Linked DNA regions of Homo sapiens: regions 1 and 2 are each linked to region 3. Evidence: promoter capture Hi-C in 16 types of primary human blood cells and fetal thymus (Javierre and others, 2016). All regions are on one chromosome and are shown on one strand. Each heading gives the region's core, a stretch centred on a gene start or on the middle of the fragment in contact. The rest is flanking DNA. Distances are from core to core; before and after follow the strand shown.

Region 1 (2,700 bases), core at 50-2,549, 360 kb after region 3:
GTGCTTTCCTAGGCTGAGGACCCAGCGCTGGGCTCGCACCTAGAACAGAGCCCCTCCCACCTGCAGGGAATAGTGAGGCATCCCGCAGGAGCTTTGTTTCAATACATGTCCGTGCTCAGGGCTCTGGAGTGGTGTCATCATTAAGGACACGTGCCCGTCTTGTTTTCCCTCAGTGTGTATGTTGGGCTTGTGGACGGGGCAGGTACAGAGCATGCAGCTGCCCTAGCTTTTTCTTAGGGACCCATCTCCCTCCGGGCTTCCTCAGGCTTCCCAGGGGCTCGGCATCGAGCTAGCAGGAGCCGAGATAGTGGCCTCCAGGCCCTCGTGTCCACCCATCAAATGGGACCCATAGGGCCAGCTGCTGTCCCCCCAGAGCTGGAACCGTTGTGGGCAGGGGCAGCCCCTCCAGGCCCGAGCTCCTCTCTTGCTTGTGTTGCAGGGACATTCTGTCACGTTACCTCAAACCTTGCCCACCAACTGTGGTTTGTCCCAGAGTCAAGTTAAGGACGGAGGTTGTTGGCTTGCAGAAGAGAAGTGGGCTGAGGGGTTTATCAGGGAAACTTGGGGGCTTCTCCCAGAGCAAAAACAGGGTCCAGCCTAGGCTGGCTCAGAAGAGATTGACCCAGATGCTGCCTCAACAGGCCGGGCAGAGGCAAGCATAGGCTAGGGGCCAGGACTTCCCCCACCTGCGTGGGGACCTCGTCCGAGCTGTGGACAGTGTTTCACATGTGGTCATGTGTCTGACGCCGCCGTGCTGGTGCCTGGGGGACCTGCAATTCATGCCCAGCTCCCCATCGACCCCTGGCCTACCTGCCTCTTGGGACCTTTCAGGGCTCACCCCCAAAGGCACTGTGGGAGAGGACCCCCTGGCAGGTAGGGCCCGCCTGGCCAAAGTGGGTGGCAGCTGCTCTGGCCACCAGAGAGCCCACCCCCAACTCTAGCAGGGATTACCCAGGGCTGAGAGTGACAGGAGTTAGAGCTGCTGGCCCCAGGGACAAGGGCTAATCCCTTGCCTCCCCCCTCTTCCGGGCCGCCTCATTCTAGATCAGTGGAGCCATTTCCCTAGCAACAGAGCAGGAGATTCAGAATGGAAACATGACTTCCTGGGGTGGGCGGGGCTTCATGGCAGGCACCCTGGACAGAAGCCACAGCCCCTGCTCAGCTGTCATTGGTCCCCTAGGCAGGCTCAAGGGTTGACCTTCCTTTTCAAACAGGGTAAGAGAGCTGAGGGGCCTTCCGTGGGGATAGGAAGCCTGTCACCCAAAGTCAGTTGGGTGCAGAGCCTTGTCCGGCTCAGGGGTGGGGGGTCACACAAGCAGGTCTTCACCCATCAGGACACGCCCCCATGCACAGTTACAAAGAAGCCTGTACAACAGCTAGTAATTAGCACAGGGAAGTCCACGTGCTTAGTTGCCCGGGAGTGCTAGATGCGGGCACCGCAGCAGAGCAGGTCTCCACATGCCCCAGAGCGAGTCTCCTTCCCTGGCTGTTCATGTAGTCGGCGCCCGGTGGCGCTGTCCTAATGCCGAGCACTGAGCGCCTCCCTGCATTCTCCTGTAGGATCCTCACAGTGGCCTCTCCTGGGGCAGGGATGCTCAGCAGCCCCTTTTGACAGGTGAGGGATGAGACTGCGGCCCTAGAAGGCAGAGCTGCTCTCCAAGGCCATGCCTGTTGCCATACTGCCTGCCCAGCTGGCTGGCTCCGTTTCGTCGCTGGTCTGCAGGCCTTGCCCGCTGTCTCCATGCTGTTGACAAGATGCAGCGGTCCTTGTCCTCTGTGAGGGCTTGGGCCTGTGCTGGGGCAGGGGGTGTGGGGTGAGAAGGGTGTGGGCCGAGGCTGCTGGGGGAGATCCCAGCTGCCCCTGTGGGCCCTGGGCCTTCCCCGCAGGGCCTGGTCCCATCTCCCCTTCTCTCCCAAGCCTCCCCCCACTCCATGTAACTTGGCTTTTTTGCGTACATACTCTAGGCCAGTCACTGTTAAGTGCGTCCCACGAGCAGTCCCTTGTGAGGGAGGTGCTTTTGTCCCCAGCTGACAGGTGATCACACATCTCCCTTCATATGCCCCTGGTCAGGAGAAGGGGGTGGAGGGGAGGGCCGGGCAGCAGCAGTAGTGTCAGAAGCGGGAGCCCTGCTTCCCAGGGCCCAGCCTCCCCCTCAGGCCCCTGGCCAGCCCGATGGGTTAGCGACAGAGCTGGCTCTTTGCAGAGCACAGCACCTTTCTGTCTTGTGTCACTGCGTCCTTGCAGCATGCAGAAGCCGGGGGTGCTGTGGTTGCCCCCACTTCACAGATGTGGACACTGAGGCTGAGAGTACAGGAACTTCCTGGGGCTCCGTCCTCCTTTCTCTGAGCAGCGCCTCAGGATGAAAGGCCAGAGGGCCGTGCTCTCTGGTCCTGTGGACGGGGGGCCGTCTGTGCAGGGAGTGGCTGCCCACTCTGGCAGGGGCTCAAGCGGTGTCCTCGAGCTGGAGGTGGCCCCTGGGGGAGAGGTGGAGAGTCGGAGCAGCAAAGCCGGGGCCCCAGGGCTCCCACAGCTGCTGCCTGTCACCCACATTGTTCCTGGATTTCCGGAACTGGGGGGCTTTTTTGGGCAGTGGCGGTCTCTCTGCCCACCCCTCCCCAGTCCCCCAGTGTCCCACAACCAATGAGGTGGGTAGAGGGGGGCCCAGAGCATAGATCCCCCAGTGTCTGGGCTGGGATTAT
Region 2 (2,700 bases), core at 24-2,523, 300 kb after region 3:
GCGGAGGTTGCAGTGAGCCGAGATGGTACCATTGCACTCCAGCCTGGGCAACAAGAGCAAAACTATGTCTCAAAAACAAAGATTCTCATTGTATGTATATGCCCTGATCAGGGTATGAAACATTTTTGTCACCCCTAAGAAGTTTTTTCCAGCCTCTTTGCAGTCAGTCCTCTCCTATCCCCGGCCCCCAGCATCCATCCACTCATCTGTTCTCAGTCACTAAAGATTAGTTTTACCTTTTTTAGAATTTCATGTAAATGAAATCATATACTTTTTATGTCTGGTTTCTTTCTTTGCTCTTATTATTTATTTTATTATTATTTTTTGAGATGGAGTCACTCTCTGTCTCCCAGGCTGGAGTGCAGTGGTGCGATCACGGCTTACAACAGCCTCAACCTCCCAGGCTCAAAAGATTCTCCCACCTCAGCCTCCAGAGTAGCTGCGATTACAAGCACACACTACCATACGCAGCTTATTTTTAAAATTTTTTATAGAGTGAGGGTCCATCTGTGTTGCCAGGCTGGTTTCGAAATCCCAGGTTCAAGCAATCTTCAGCCTCTCAAAGTGTTAGAATTATAGGCGTGAACCACCACGCCCAGCGTCAGGGCTTAAGCCATCCTTCTGCCTCAGCCTCTCAAGTAGCCAGGACCACAGGTGTGTGCCATCACACCCAGCTATAAAAATCGTTTTACACTTGATCTTAGCCAAAAGGCCGAGAAGGGATGTAAAAATAATTTAAAAATTTTTTAATATTAAAATAGAGTTGGGTGCCGGGTGTGGTGCCTCACGTCTGTAATGTCAACATTTTGGGAGGCTGAGGCAGGCAGATCACTTGAGGCCAGGAGTTCAAGACCAGCCTGGCCAACATGGTGAAACCCTGTCTCTACTAAAAATACAGAAAAATTAGCCAGGCATGGTGGCACGTGCCTGTAATCCAGCTACTCGTGAGGCAGAGGCAGGAGAATTGCTTGAACCCAGGAGGTGGAGGTTGCAGTGAGCTGAGATCATGCCACTGCACTCCAGCCTGGGTGACAGAGTGAGACTTCATCTAAAAAAATAAATAAAAATAAATAAAATAAAATAGAGATGGGGTCTTGCTATGTTGCCCAGGTTAGTCTAGAGCCGAAATGATCCTCCCACCGTGGCCTCCCAAAGTGATGAGATTACAGAGGTGAGCCACCACACCCAGCCTGTAAAAATAATTTTTTTCTTTTTTGACACGGAGTTTCACTCTTGTCACCCAGGCTGGAGTGCAATGGCATGTTCTCAGCTCACCACAACTCCCACCTCTTGGGTTCAAGCCATTCTCCTGCCTCAGCCTCCCAAGCAGGTGGGATTACAGCCGCCCACCACCATGCCGAAGTTAATTTTTGTATTTTTAGTAGCAGCTTATGGGCCAGGCTGGTCTCAAACTCCTGACCTCAGGTGATCTGCCTGCCTCAGCCTCTCAAAGTGCTGGGATTACTGGCGTGAGCCACCGCGCCTGGCCTAAAAATAATTTTTAAAATTTTTATATTAAAATTGCTGCTAGCAAAACCTTTTTTTTTGTATATTGACCTTATTTCCTGTGATCTTGCTAAATTCACTAATTAGTTCTAGTAGTTGTTATATAGATTACTTAGAATTTTCTAGTAAACAGTTACATCATCTATGACTGAAGACAGTTTCACTTCTTTATGATCTTTACACATTTTTTTTTCTTGCCTTACTGCACTGACTAGGGCCTCTAGCACAACATTGAGTAAGTGGTAACGGCAAATATCTTTGCTTATTGCCAATCTTAGGGGCAGGTGGTCAGTTATTTAATGTTGTGTGTGATGTTAGCTATAGGTTTGGGGTAGACGCTTTATATCAGATAGAGGAATTCCCTCCTGTTCCTTGTTTGCTGAGAGCTTTTTTTCATGAATAGGTGTTCAGTTTTTTCAAATGCTTTTCTGCATCAATTTACATGGTCATCAGGTTTTTTTCCATTATTCTCTCTTTCTCTTTCACTGTTTTTTTTTTCTTTTTTTCCTTTTTTTTTTTTTTTTTTTTTTTTTGCTGTTGACACAGCCCCAGGAGGTCCTGGGAACATGTGTCCCTGTTATTCTCTTAATATGCTGAATTATATGGATTGATTTTTTGAATGTTAAACCAATCTCTAATTCCTGGGCATCTCTCATTTCGTCCTGATGTATTATCCTTTTTCTATATTGCTGGATTTGATTGCCAATGTTTCATTAAAGGTTTTTATCTATTGGAATCTCTGTTGTATACCCAGTACATGGCCATGGCCAATGCCTGAGCTGGTGTCAGAGGAGCTCTAGAAGTCTAGGAAGGGGGCCATCCTAGTCAGGGAAAATAGCAGGTTCAAGCCAGGCGTGGTGGCTCACACCTGTAATCTCAGCACTTTGGGAGGCCAAGGCGGGCGGATCACCTGAGGTCAGGAGTTCGAGCCCAGCCTGGCCAACATAGTGAAACCCTGTCTCTACTAAAAATACAAAAATTAACCAGGCATGGTTGCGGGCGCCTGTAATCCCAGCTACTCGGGAGGCTGAGGCAGGAGAAACGCTTGAACCCAAGAGGTGGGGGTCGCAGTGAGCCGAGAACGCACCATTGCACTCCAGCCTGGGCAACAAGAGTGAAACACCGTGTCAAAAAAAAAAAAAAAGAAAAAACCAACAAAAATTAGCCAAGCATGGTGGCATATGTCTGTAATCC
Region 3 (2,700 bases), core at 3-2,502:
CCCGGAACCCCTTGCCTAACATCCTGTGTGGTAATCATGCCTGTTGGCCCCATTCAGTCCTGCCGGCCACTGCCAAGTTGCCACTGCTAGTTCCAGACGCTCCCACCTCTAATGGAACCATCGGGAAATAAAAAGCTGCAGCACAGTTTCTCTCTCAGGTCAGAATCTCCTCCCAGCACTTTGGGAGGCCAACGTGGGAGAATCACTTGGGCCCAGGAGTTCGAGACCAGCCTGGGCAACAAAGTGAGACCCCGTCTCTACAAAAAGTTGAAAAATTAGTCAGGAGTGGTGGCGAACATCTGTGATCCCAGTTACTTGGGAGGCTGAGGCGGGAGGATCACTTGAGCCTGGGAGGCGGAGGCTGCAGTGAGCTGTGATAGCGCCACTGCACTCCAGCATGGGTGACAGAGCGAGACCCTGTCTCAAAAAAAAAAAAAAAAAAAAAAAAGAAAAAAAGAAAAGAAAAGAAAGAAAAAAGAAAAAGTGGGGAGCAGGTTGGGGAGCATGGTGAGGGCCACCTACTGCCTGATAATGGTGGGGGACAGGAAGGGGACTGAGTGCTCTGAGAGGCAGCTGATCCCGTTTTCTCACTTAAATACCTCTCACCCTACAGAGAAGCCCTGATTCCATTTGCTGTCTTTCTTAGCAATGTCTTAGCAAAAGTCTTCTATTTGCCACACGGGTCCAAGCTTCCGCTTACTAAGCACCCAAGTGCCAGACAACCCCGGAGGCAGGTACTCCCATTGTCCCCACTGTACAGATGAAGAAACTGAACTCAGGGTCACACAAGTGATAAGGGGTGGCAGAGATCTGAAGCTGTGCGCGGAGGCGTGGCCAGCGTGTGCGCTCCGACTTCTAAATCCCTACTCTGGATATTGAAGACGGGAAAGACCGAGCCGCTCATTCTACAGATGGGGAAAAGCGAGGCCTGAGGAGTCCCAGAGCGGGTGCCAGATCGTAGGGAGCAGCCAGCACCCCGGGTCCCCTCCACGACACAACCACGTCCCTCGGCCACTTCTGGGTCCCGCGCGCGTCTCGGACGCGGCAGGACAGCTCTAGGACGCACGGCCACCAGGGGGCCGAAGGGAAGGGCGGGGGCGGAGGCTCGGAGCTGACCCACCGCCTCGCCCCGGAAGCTCCGAGGCCCCGCCCCGGCGGCCGCCAGCGGAGGGCGTGGCCTCGCCGGCGCCCCCGCCCCGCCCCCGCCCCCGCCGCGCGCGCCCCCGCCGCGCGCGCCCCCGGCCCGGGCCCCAGTCTTGCTGAGCGCAAGGCGGTGGAGGCCTGAGGCCTGAGGCCTGGGGCGGGGTGGCGGCCGGGCTGGCCTTGGCCTCGCGCCTTCCCCTGCGGCCGCCGCGGGCTCCGCGGGCGGTATCGGAGTGTCGTGCGGCGCGTGGCCGCGTGACACGCGCACTTGTCGGAGTGACGGGCCCTGCGGAAGAGGAGGTGCGGCCCAGGGCGCAGGGGAGCCCTCGGGAGCGGGCCCGGCCCTCAGCGCCGCCCCGGCCGTGTCCCGGAGGAGCGGCCTGCGCCGCCGCGCGAGAGGAAGTAAGCGCCCCCCGCCGGCCCCGCCGCCGCCCCGGCCCCGGCGCCTCCAACCCGCGCTGCCGCCGGGCCCGAGGCCGCGCCGAGCCCCGGAGCCTGCGCTGCCAGCCCCACGGAGCCTGGGGCTGGCGGCTTTGGAACTGCTCAGGAGGCGGCCAGGCTCCCTCCAGGGTCGCCCCGAGCGGCCGAGCTGTCCTTTCCCTGGGCTTCCCGGAACTGAGTTCCAGGAGAGGGGGAACTCCGAGATTTCCCCCGGGACCTGCTTAATCTTTGGCATTGATTGGCCCTCGGGTTTCACATAGCGTTTCCCGTACCCGGATCTAGTGAACGGTTTTCCAGGGGCAAACCTCTCTGGATCTCTGAAAATCAGCTCACCCAACCTTGAATGCTTAGCCAGAAGTGAGAACTTCTGGAAAGAAGTGTCCTTGCCCACTCCCCCTGCACCCACAACAGGCCCATGGCTCATGAAAGGCAGCAGATGAGGGAAAACTGGTGTCAAATGGGCATATTTTTTATTTTATCTTTTTACTTTTTTATATAAAAGTAAAAAATCTTTTACTTATAAAAGATGGGGTCTTGCTTGGTTGCCCAGGCTGGAGTACAGTGGCACAAACACGGTTCCCTGCAGCCTCCACCTCTTGGGCTCAGGCCATCGTCCTGCCTCAGCCTCCGGGGTAGCTGGGACCACAGGCGCACACCACCACGCCTGGCTAATTTTTAAACCTTTTGTAGAGACAGTGGTCTCACTATGTTGCCCTGGCTGGTCTCGAACTCCTGGGCTCAAGCGATCCTCCTGCTTAAGCCTTACGAAGTGTTGGGATTACAGGTGTGAAGCACCACGCCCAGACAGCGTATTTTAAATTATGCATCATATCCCTTTAATTTTTCATCATTATGATTGGAAGATCATGAAAAGCTGTCTGAGTTTTTCCTTGGCATTTTTCTGTGGTTGATGGTTAGTTGTTGCCCAAGCTGGAGTGCAATGGCGCGATCTCGGCCCACTGCAACCTTCTCCTCCTGGTTCAAGCGATTCTTCCACCTCAGCCTCCTGAGTGGCTGGGATTACAGGCGCGTGCCACCACACCCGGCTAATTTTATGTATTTTTTAGTAGAAACAGGGTTTCACTATGTTATCCAGGCTTGTCTTGAACTGCTGAC

The links. Contacts are between HindIII fragments. The CHiCAGO score rates a contact against its expected background, and 5 or more counts as called.
Region 1: a contact is called between a fragment that was not itself captured here and the fragment with the promoter of H6PD in region 3, in 1 of 17 cell types (fetal thymus). The highest score is 6.3, in fetal thymus.
Region 2: a fragment that was not itself captured here is called in contact with the fragment with the promoter of H6PD in region 3 in 1 of 17 cell types (fetal thymus); the score reaches 7.2 in fetal thymus.

What each region holds. Positions count from the first base shown.
Region 1 is chr1:9,592,533-9,595,232 of GRCh38, forward strand. All of the region lies in intron 1 of TMEM201 (transmembrane protein 201), which reads left to right. Among named protein-coding and RNA genes, the nearest start is that of TMEM201, 5.0 kb to the left of the region's middle. RefSeq lists enhancers at 879-1,476, 1,379-1,673, 1,477-2,073 and a silencer at 1,379-1,673. The HindIII fragment of the contact is 5,102 bases long and covers 1-2,700 here.
Region 2 is chr1:9,534,547-9,537,246 of GRCh38, forward strand. No RefSeq gene overlaps it. Among named protein-coding and RNA genes, the nearest start is that of SLC25A33, 3.6 kb to the right of the region's middle. The HindIII fragment of the contact is 4,795 bases long and covers 1-2,700 here.
Region 3 is chr1:9,233,522-9,236,221 of GRCh38, forward strand. It overlaps H6PD (hexose-6-phosphate dehydrogenase/glucose 1-dehydrogenase), which reads left to right and starts at 1,253. Exons shown (of 5, transcript NM_004285.4): 1 at 1,253-1,545. RefSeq lists a silencer at 1,106-1,665. The HindIII fragment of the contact is 5,189 bases long and covers 688-2,700 here.